3 separate regions of the Homo sapiens genome follow, and regions 1 and 2 are each linked to region 3. Evidence: promoter capture Hi-C in 16 types of primary human blood cells and fetal thymus (Javierre and others, 2016). All regions are on one chromosome and are shown on one strand. Each heading gives the region's core, a stretch centred on a gene start or on the middle of the fragment in contact. The rest is flanking DNA. Distances are from core to core; before and after follow the strand shown. Region 1 overlaps HYCC2 (hyccin PI4KA lipid kinase complex subunit 2). Region 2 overlaps HYCC2 (hyccin PI4KA lipid kinase complex subunit 2). Region 3 holds the start of CFLAR-AS1 (CFLAR antisense RNA 1).

Region 1 (3,431 bases), core at 602-3,101, 92 kb after region 3:
TTGGCATTGCAAATATGTTTACCTTGACTTGGGTCCAGTTTAGAAACTTACGGTTCATCTTTGTGAATTCTAGACTTTCTGTTTGGGTATCTGGCTGCCATGGAGACAAATCTGAGAAAAAGTATGAGTAGATTTTAATTTTAGAGAAAAGCATAAAAACTCAATTATGTAATATATTAAGAGGTGTGACTTTGATTATTTATAGAATTATAGTACTTTCTAGGTTTGAAATATAACTGCCAAAAAAGTGGTCATAAAATATGGTAAGTGGCATCAATTTATTGAATGGCAAAGCATGGTTTACAGAATATCTGTTTTGTCCTATTTTGACACATGAAACTTCAAACAGTGTTAGAATCAAATTTATCCATCACCTTTGTCATTTTGAATACTTAACTGTTGATAGTGCTTGATTCTTTTTTTTTTTCTGGTGAGAAGATACTAATATATATACTTAGAATTAGCCAGCCGAACTCAGTTTAGATGATCCCAATTTTGTTGACAACCTCCAAAGCATCATAATCAGGAGCCAGTCAAACATAAGCCTTCTTCTCTTCATCAGGTCTGATCAGGGTCTTGATCTTGGCTCATCAATGTTATGGAGCTTCTTTGTAGCCTATTTGACCTGGTGCTTGTTGGCTTTAACATCCACAATGAACACAAATATGTTGTCTTCTATCTTCTTCATGGTGAACTCTGGTCAGCAGGAACTTGATGATGGTATAGTGGTCAAGCTTCTTTCTCCTTGTATCCTGCTATCTTACAAGGATATTTGGGCTGCCTATGGGGCTGCAGTGCCTTGGGCCACCGGGACGTGGGTGACTTGCGGATCTTCTTTTTTTGTGTATGTGTTTGATGCCACTTACCATATTTTATGACTACTTTCAGCCTTTCAGCACTGCTTTCTTGGCCTTCAAAGCCTTTGCTTTGGCTTCTGCTTTAAGATGGGTAGGAGCTTCCTTTTTCGCCTTCGGCACTATCTTGTGAAAACAGTCTCCCTGATTCTTAATTAATATAGACTTGTTAGCTACTAAGACTTGCCAATTAACCTCCTTAAATTCCTTTCCATATTATATATAAAATGGATGAGAGAGGCAAGTTAGATACTGAGCAGGTACTGAAAGTTATAATTTTTCCATATTCTTTTGTATTGGGGCTTTTTAATCTGTGTATTCGTTCTTTATTTATTTATTAGTTTATACTTTTTAAATGAAAAAAGGTGTGGGGATGGGAGAGAGTATACTACTGTCCTTTCTACATTATAGGGTGACTGTAAGACTCAAATAGAAAACATAGTGGCTGGGCACAGTGGCTCACGCCTGTAATCCCAGCATCTCGGGAGGCCGAGGTGAGCAGATCACTTGAGGTCAGGATTTCGAGACCAGCCTGGCCAACATGGTGAAACCCTGTCTCTACTAAAAATACAAAAGTTAGCTGGGCACGGTGGTGCACACCTGTAGTGCTAGCTACTGGAATGGCTGAGGCAGGAAAATTGCTTGAACCTAGGAAGTGGAGGTTGCAGTGAGCCAAGATTGTGTGCACTCCAGCCTGGGCGATGAAGTGAGACTCTGTCTCCAAAGAAAAAAAAAAAAGAAAAGAAAACATGAAGGGCTTTTATAAAATCTAAAGTTAATTTGAATTTGCAGTATTTTACAGTATCTGCTATTTATGGAAAATACTAGGGGAAATGAATATAAAACTTAAGACTCAAATGTTTCTGTTCCTTAAGGTTCTGAATCTTCTCTCATTTTATGCTTTGTTACTCTGTGATTTTTTTATTTAATTAGCATCCAAATATGATGGTTCTCAATCTGTGTCTCTAATCCAGAGCTTTCCCTTTAACTTTAGTTCCTATTCTATACATGTAATTGCCTGCTAGATGAAGATGAGCTACAGGTCCTTCAACTATAATATGTTTAAAAGTGAATTCATGTTTTCCCTTTTGTCATCTTTCTAACCTGCTGGAGCTGGAACCCTGATGTTATCTATCTTTAACCCTTACGCTTCATCTGAGCAATGCTAGGTTCTGTTGACTTTACCTTCTTACTCTTTCTTTGATTCCATTTACTTCTCTCAATTTCTGTAGCTGCTAGAAATATTATGAAGAATTAGGGCCTAGAGGCAACTATCTAGATTAGAATCCTAGCTCCGCTATTTACATCTCAGTGTCCTTATCTTTAGAAATAGAGTTATACAAGCCAACAATTGCAGTCTTGGGCATTTGTTCCAGAGAAACTGAAACTTACATTCATATAAAAACCTGTGTGAATTCTCATAGCATCTTTATTCCTAATAGCCAAAAACTGGAAACCTAAATGTTCTTCAACAGGTTAAATAGACTATAGTGCATCTATATCATGGACTGCTATGCAGCAATAAAAAGGAATGGACTGTTAATAAAATGTAACAACTTGAATGGGTCTCAAGTGAAAAAAATCTCAAAATTGCATATTCCATGATTCCATTTATATAACATTCTTGAAATACTAAAAATAAAGAGATAGAGAACAGATTCGTGGTTGCCATGGTTTAGGTATCAAGGAGAGGGGAGTGGGTGGGACTACAAGAGTGTCTTGGTGACAGAACAGTTCTGTATCTTGATTGTGATGGTAATTACATGAGTCTACCTATGTGATAAAATTGCATAGAGCTATACACACACGTATACATGAGTGCTTGTAAAACTGGTTAGATCTGAGTAAACTTTGTAGACTGTAGCAATGTCAATTTCCTGGTCTTGATATTTTACTGTAGTTATTCAAGGTGTTCCCATTGAGGGAAAATGGGCAAAGGGTACATGAGACCTGTTGGCAGTTTTTTTTGCAACTTCCTGTGAGTCTATAATTTCAAAATTAAAAGTTTTTAAGAAGAATTGTTAGGATTAAATGAGCAGATACACAGAAGATTTTTTTCCAGAGAATTAAATCGTTTATTGATTACACATGATAATGGATGATACACAAGCTTCATTCCCATCTATAATTTTATCTGGTACCATTATTCAATTTAGATATATTGCATAGGATGTGCCAACAATCACTTTTATAACCAATAATTCCATGATTTTGCTTGGGTAATCCCTTTTAATGGTGAACTTCAGGTCACAACAGTAACTATCAGTTCAACTACACCAAGGTTTCCGAAGACAATAGCTTCTCCACCCAAGCAGGTTGTATATAAATTCCAAATAGAACCTGGCATCACCCTGAAGGAATTCTAACTTCACACTGTTGGGGAAATTTACCAAGATGGCTTCAGAGTAGACTAACTTTACACAGCACATTAAAAAAAAAGACATTTATTCAGCGTCACGATCAGACTATTACATTTAGCAATCAACAGCATGGGTGCAAAAAAAAAAATCTACATTAAAACCCTTTGTTGGAATGCTTTACACTTTCCACAGAACAGAAACTAAAATAACCTGTTAT
Region 2 (3,638 bases), core at 355-2,854, 120 kb after region 3:
TGATGTAATATACAGTAGGAGAAATGATCTTCAGAATTTTATATTTTATGGTTAGATAAACAGAAAGGTTGCAAGTCCAGGCACTGTAGCGTATGCTGTAATCTCAGCTATTCAGGAGGCTGAGGTGGGAGGATTGTTTGAGCCCAGGAGTTCAAGACCAGCTGGGGCAAGATAGCGAGACCCCATCTCAAAAAATAAAAGATAGCTTGCAGTCTATTTGTAGCTGTGCTCTGTAGATATCTCTATGTACTAAGAGTGCTGTGCCTGGTTAGAAAATACATGTTTGGCCAGGCGCGGTGGCTCACACCTGTAATCCCAGCACTTTGGGAGGCTGAGGCGGGTGGATCACGAGGTCAGGAGATCGAGACCATCCTGGCTAGCACAGTGAATCCCTGTCTCTACTAAAAATACAAAAAATTAGCCAGGCATGGTGGCAGGCGCCTGTAGTCCCAGGTACTCGGGAGGCTGAGGCAGGAGAATGGCGTGAACCTGGGAGACGGAGCTTGCAGTGAGCTGAGATCACGCCACTGCACTCTAGCCTAGGCAACAGAGTGAGACTCTGTCTCAAAAAAAAAAAAAAGAAAAAAAGAAAATATATGTTTACAGAATTTCTCTGTAACCAGTACTATTCTATTTTTCTTTCTTTTTTTTTTTTTTTTTAGTATTTATTGATCATTCTTGGGTGTTTCTCGGAGAGGAGGATTTGGCAGGGTCATAGGACAATAGTGGAGGGAAGGTCAGCAGATAAACATGTGAACAAAGGTCTCTGGTTTTCCTAGGCAGAGGGCCCTGCCACCTTCCGCAGTGTTTGTGTCCCTGGGTAGTTGAGATTAGGGAGTGGTGATGACTCTTAAGGAGTATTCTGCCTTCAAGCATCTGTTTAACAAAGCACAACTTGCACCGCCCTTAATCCATTTAACCCTTAGTGGACACAGCTCATGTTTCAGAGAGCACGGGGTTGGGGGTAAGGTTATAGATTAACAGCATCCCAAGGCAGAAGAATTTTTCCTAGTACAGAACGAAATGGAGTCTCCTATGTCTACTTCTTTCTACACAGACACAATAACAGTCTGATCTCTCTTTTCCCCACATTTCCCCCTTTTCTATTCCACAAAACCGCCATTGTCATCATGGCCCATTCTCAATGAGCTGTTGGGTACACCTCCCAGACGGGGTGGCGGCCGGGCAGAGGGGCTCCTCACTTCCCAGACGGGGCGGCCGGGCAGAGGGGCCCCCCCACCTCCCAGACGGGGTGGCGGCCGGGCAGAGGGGCTCCCCACTTCCCAGACTGGGTGGCTGGGCAGAGGCGCCCCCCACCTCCCAGACGGGGCGGCGGGCGGGGGCTGCCCCCCACCTCCCGGACGGGGCGGCTGGCCGGGCGGGGGCTGCCCCCCAGCTCCCGGACTGGGCGGCTGCCGGGCGGAGACGCTCCTCACTTCCCGGATGGGGCGGCTGCCAGGCGGAGGGGCTCCCCCAGACGGGGCGGCTGCTGGGCGGATGGGCTCCTCACTTCTCAGACGGGGCGGCTGGTCAGAGACGCTCCTCACCTCCCAGACGGGGTGGCGGCGGGGCAGAGACACTCCTCAGTTCCCAGACGGGGTCGCGGCGGGGCAGAGGCACTCTTCACATCTCAGACGGGGCGGTGGGGCAGAGGTGCTCCCCACATCCCAGATGATGGGCGGCCGGGCAGAGACGCTCCTCACTTCCTAGATGGGGTGGCGGCCGGGCAGAGGCTGCAATCTCAGCACTTTGGGAGGCCAAGGCAGGCGGCTGGGAGGTGTAGGTTGTAGCGATCCGAGATCACGCCACTGCACTCCAGCCTGGGCAACATTGAGCATTGAGTGAGCGAGACTCCGTCTGCAATCCCGGCACCTCGGGAGGCCGAGGCTGGCAGACCACTCGCGGTCAGGAGCTGGAGACCAGCCCGGCCAACACGGCGAAACCCTGTCTCCACCAAAAAATACGAAAACCAGTCAGGTGTGGCGGCATGTGCCTGCAATCCCAGGCACTTGGCAGTCTGAGGCAGGAGAATCAGGCAGGGAGGCTGCAGTGAGCCGAGATGGCGGCAGTACAGTCCAGCCTCGGCTCGGCATCAGAGGGAGACTGTGCAAAGGGGAGAGGAGGACCGTGCAAAGGGGAGGGGGAGGGGGAGAGAGACTATTCTATTTTTCAAATGAAGGTACTAAAATATATTTTTAGGATTTTAGAGTTGGAAAATAACTAATCATTGTAGGAAACTGAAGCCCAAAGGGTTTAAATGAGTTGTCTGAGGACATATAAACAGTATGGTTCATTGACTATATATATGTTTTTTAAGTACCCGTCTTACATCCAGAAATCATAGTATCTTTGTTAGCTTTGAATGCATAGTAGTGAGCAATGCAAAAATGTACCCTGTTCTCTTGGAATTTACAATCCAGTGGGGAGATGGACAATTAGTAAGTAATGAGGTCTGATAAAGAAGTTACAAACCCCGAAGTTCTAGGCAGGAAATAAATCTTGTGTTGGAATGGAAAATACTGGGGAATGGAAGAAGAGCTGCTATTTACATAAAGTGGTTCAGAAAGGCTGCTGAGACTTACAAGATCAGAAGGAGCCAGCCACTTAAGTAGCAGGAGCAGGACAGCATTCTAGGCTGGAACAGCCTGCACAGATGTGCTGGAGTTAAGGTGCACGTAAAGCTGTAGAGAAACTCAAAGGAGAGTATGGCCAGAACATAGAAAGCTGTGGGGAGAGTAGTATGAACCATAAGACAGGGACCAGATTGCATAGTGCCTTTTTCAATCATAGATTTCAAAATTATGGCATTAGATTCAAATCTGAGTTCTGCCACTTAAACTGTGTTACCTTGTATAGGTCACACACCCATTTACACTTTAATTTTCTTATCTATTAGATGAGAATAACAAGCTACTTCATAGGACATAGTATCATGGAGATTATATAATGCTTATAGCAAACACTTATGTAATGTTTATCTTGTGATAAGAACTGTTCTAAGTATACAAAAACTATATGAAGTAGGTACCGCTATTCCCAGTTTTGAAATGAGGGACAGCGGGTTTGAGTATAGCTAGTAAGAGGGTACAAGGGTTTAAACATAGCTAGTAAGTGACCTTAACCTTAGGCAACCTTGCTCCAGGGTTTGTGATCAAAATGTGATCCTCAGGATCCTTTAAGGGGGTCCATAAGGTCAAAACTATTTTTCATATTAATATAAAGACAGTATTTGCCATCTTCACTGTCATTCTGTCATAAATATACAGTGAGGTTTTTCTGCAACAGATTGAATGCAGAAGCAATTATGAGGCTGGGCACAGTGGCTCACGCCTGTAATCACAGCGTTTTGGGAGGCTGAGGCAGGTGGATCACTTGAGGTCAGGAGTCCGAGACCAGCCTGGCCAACATGGTGAAACCCCATCTGTACTAAAAATAAAAAAATTAGCCGGATATGGTGGTGCATGCCTGTGATCCCAGCTACTCGGAGGCTGAGGCAGAATTGCTTGAATCTGGGAGGTGGAGGTTGCAGTGAGCTGAGATTTTGCCACTGCACTCCAGCCTGGGCAACAGAGACTTTGTCTCAAAAAAATGAACAAACAAAAAAAAATTATGAGATTCACAAAAAAAAAAAAACAAAA
Region 3 (3,388 bases), core at 844-3,343:
ACCACAACTTCACTAGACTCTGGGCCAGAACAGCCCAGCTAAGCTGCTCCTAAATTCCTCACCCACAGGTGAGGATATAATTAAATTAGTAACTGTGAAGATATAATTAAATTAGTACTGTTGTTTTTAGCCACTAAATTTTGGAGTGATTTGTATACATTTTTAGGTAAATAATTCACCAGGTAAGTCCTTTGACCTTTCCTATCGGTAAAAGGAAAAGGCTTCTTACTTTTCTCCTTTGCTTGGCCCACAACTAAGGATTAAACAATGAATTATTGGCTGGGCGCAGTGGCTCACCTGTAATCCCAGCACTTTGGGAGGCTGAGGCGGGCAGATTACCTGAGGTCAGGAGTTCAAGACCAGCCTAGCCAACATGGCGAAACCCTGTCTCTACTAAAAATACAAAAATTAGTCAGGTGTAGTGGCACGCACCTGTAGTCCCAGCTACTCAGGAGGCTGAGGCAGGAGAATCGCTTGAACCCAGGAGGTGGAGGTTGCAGTGAGCCAACATTGTGACACTGCACTCCAGCCTGGGCAACAGAGTGAGACTCTGTCTCAAAAAAAAAAATTAATTATTATATCATGTAAGAATGAAGAGCTACAAAGGAGGTGCTGATATTCCTAAGTCTATAATCAATAAGCATCATTAACAAGGAAATAGGAGACATGATTCACAGGTTGCAAATAACCCATTAAATAGTGAGGGCAACCAGCCCCAGTGGCTCACATCTGTAATCCTAGCACTTTGGGAGGCCGAGACGGGCAGATCACCTGAGGTCAGGAGTTCGAGACCAGTCTGGCCAATATGGTGAAACCCCGTCTCTACTAAAAATACAAAAATTAGCCAGGCGTGGTGGTGCTCACCTGTAATCCCAGCTACTAGGGAGGCTGAGACAGGAGAATTGCTTGAACCCGGGAGGCAGAGGTTGCAGTGAGCCAAGATTGCGCCACTGCACTCCAGCCTGGGCAACAGAGCAGAACTCCGTCTCAAATTCAAATAATAATAATAATAATAATAATAATAATAATAATGATGAGGGCAAATGCCGTTACAGGATCTCTGGGTAGCTGTTATCAGGACTGTAATTTTGCACAGCCTTTTTGAAGAGCAATTTGGGAGTATCATTAAATTTTAAATGTGTATACCCTTTATAAAAAAAAGAAAACTCTGTGTGGTAGAAGAGGCCTGGACGCACTGTCCCCTAGCCATCTCCTCTGAGGGTGCAGGCTTGTTTCGATACCCAGTGCTGAATCCAGGCTGAACAAGGAGAGAACCTGGACTAGGACTCCAGTTCCATCACTGCTATTCTATTCCAAAGGACTCACACGTCTCTAATCATGGAGTATTTGCTCCTCCAGGGGGCAGAAGCAAACAGGGAAACACCAGACTCAAAGCTCTTTTGTGTACTTATCTCAAGATTGGTTCACTTCCCTCAAAACCTCTCTTCACTGATAAATGTCCTTCCTTATCAAACAAAGTCCTTGAAAGAAAACTTCACCACATTCTCCCTGCCCATGCTGATATGTAAGGCTTGGACAGAACAAATGCTGTACTGTGCCTTCCAGCTCTTTCCTTTATTTGTGCTCCCTGGAGGTTCTGGCTGGGGAAGCCCCTGTCACATGACTGTGAGCAGACAGCTGTGTGGTGCAGGGCAAAAGAGGAACCAGCCTTGGAATCACAAGATGTGGGTTTAAGTCCTAGTTCCTCCATCTCCTCCTACTAGGGTCTGAATCTTGCATGGTCTTGGAAGAGACTGAGCTATAACAGCAGAGAAGCTAGGAAGGAAATGGGAATCTGAGGTCTGGGGCAGAAAATCCTTACCTAAAAGAACAGAAGAAAAATGGCTAAAGCTGGAGGTGAAGCCAAAAACCATGCAGGTCCCAAGTGCCAATAAGAATAGCAGGTCTGAGCCTCAGACAAGACACAGCATTGCTTAAATATCCTGTGGCAAGGGAGTCACTCCACAGGCCCAGCCTGAAGACATTACCGCTGACATTTCCCATTAACGTCACAATTTTCCTCTATGAGGTGGTGAGGTGGAGTGGGAAGGGCTGTTAGCTGGCACTTGCAACTTTATTGCGCCAGCAAGAACATGCATACAGCCCAGTCTAACGTACAGGATCAAAAAGGTAATGACAGTGTGACTTTGAGTCAGTTTGAGTCAGCCCCAGTTTATTCATCTATAAAACAAGATTAAAACTAATGCTTGGCCAGGTGCAGTGGCTCACACCTACAATCCCAGCACTTTGGGAGGCTGAGGTGGGAGGATGGCTTGAGCTCAGGAGTTTGAGACCACCCTGGGCATCACAGGGAACCCCGTCTCTACAAAAAATAAAAAAACTAGCCAGGCATGGTAGTACAAGCCTGTAGTCATCACAGCTACTCAGGAGGCTGAGGCAGGAGGATCTCTTGAGCAGGAGGTTCTTCAAAAGGTGACTGTGAGGGCAGGGTACAGTGGCTCATACCTGTAATCCCAGCACTTTGGGAGGCCAAGGCGGGTGGATTGCTTGAGCTGCAGAGTTTGAGACCAGCCTGGGCAACATGGCGAAACCCCATCTCTACCAAAAATACAAAAATTGGCTGGGCATGGTGGCACGCATCTGTGGTCCCAGCTACTTGGGAGGCTAAGGAAGGAGGATCACTCGAGCCCAGGAAGTGGAGGAGCCAAGATCGCTCCACTGCACTCCAGCCTGGGTGAAAGAGTGAGACTCTGTCTCAGAAAAAAGGTGACCGTGAGGATCCAATGAGATTTCTGTAAAGATGCTTTGCAAACTGTGTTTATTCAAATATAAGATATTGACTTTAAAGGAAATAAAGGCAGCCATTTCAAAGTACAAATCACCAACCTTATGGTGTTGCACATCTCTCATGGAATCTCTCTCTTAGGACCTGGAGGGAGGTCTCTATATTCTAAACTAAAATGGGCTCAGAGCAGACAGAGTCCATATCCTATGTAGGTAGGACAGTAACTGTTTTGTCCTTGCACATAAATAGAGGAAGAAAAACTTGGGGGCTGGGTTTGGAAAATAAAATTTCAACAAACTACAGAAGACCCACTTCTCCTTCTAGAACCCACCCTGGAAATCCCACACTCAACCCAGTCTGATCTCCGTAAATTTCAACTGTTCTTTAGAACTTCTGGAAATGATGTGGGGGGGTGGGGAGGGGAAGGGCAGGGGTTCTTCTGGCCTTGCAGTTAGTACAGGGCTGTTCATTCAAGGCTAGGGTCAGCACTACTCACAGGTTTGAGGACTTCACAGATAAACCAAAAAAACCAAAATACAGTAAAATGTCATGACTTCATTAATTTAGAATTTGTTTTGATCTAAATGAGGATACATTTATCTTGACAATTTCTATGAAAAGGGCTTCATTAAATAAATGTAT

What was found. Contacts are between HindIII fragments. The CHiCAGO score rates a contact against its expected background, and 5 or more counts as called.
Region 1: a contact is called between a fragment that was not itself captured here and the fragment with the promoter of CFLAR-AS1 in region 3, in 12 of 17 cell types (neutrophils, erythroblasts, megakaryocytes and 9 more). The highest score is 17.3, in neutrophils.
Region 2: a contact is called between a fragment that was not itself captured here and the fragment with the promoter of CFLAR-AS1 in region 3, in 8 of 17 cell types (neutrophils, erythroblasts, activated CD4 T cells and 5 more). The highest score is 18.0, in neutrophils.

Annotation. Positions count from the first base shown.
Region 1 is chr2:201,064,240-201,067,670 of GRCh38, reverse strand. All of the region lies in intron 1 of HYCC2 (hyccin PI4KA lipid kinase complex subunit 2), which reads left to right. It also overlaps the pseudogene HNRNPA1P35 and the pseudogene RPL23AP30. Among named protein-coding and RNA genes, the nearest start is that of HYCC2, 5.7 kb to the left of the region's middle. The HindIII fragment of the contact is 2,230 bases long and covers 737-2,966 here.
Region 2 is chr2:201,040,455-201,044,092 of GRCh38, reverse strand. All of the region lies in intron 2 of HYCC2 (hyccin PI4KA lipid kinase complex subunit 2), which reads left to right. Among named protein-coding and RNA genes, the nearest start is that of HYCC2, 29 kb to the left of the region's middle. RefSeq lists enhancers at 401-913, 914-1,425. The HindIII fragment of the contact is 7,101 bases long and covers 1-3,638 here.
Region 3 is chr2:201,156,497-201,159,884 of GRCh38, reverse strand. It overlaps CFLAR-AS1 (CFLAR antisense RNA 1), which reads left to right and starts at 2,093. Exons shown (of 7, transcript NR_040030.1): 1 at 2,093-2,130. All of the region lies in intron 8 of CFLAR (CASP8 and FADD like apoptosis regulator), which reads right to left. RefSeq lists enhancers at 1,365-1,694, 1,715-1,794. The HindIII fragment of the contact is 4,248 bases long and covers 1-3,388 here.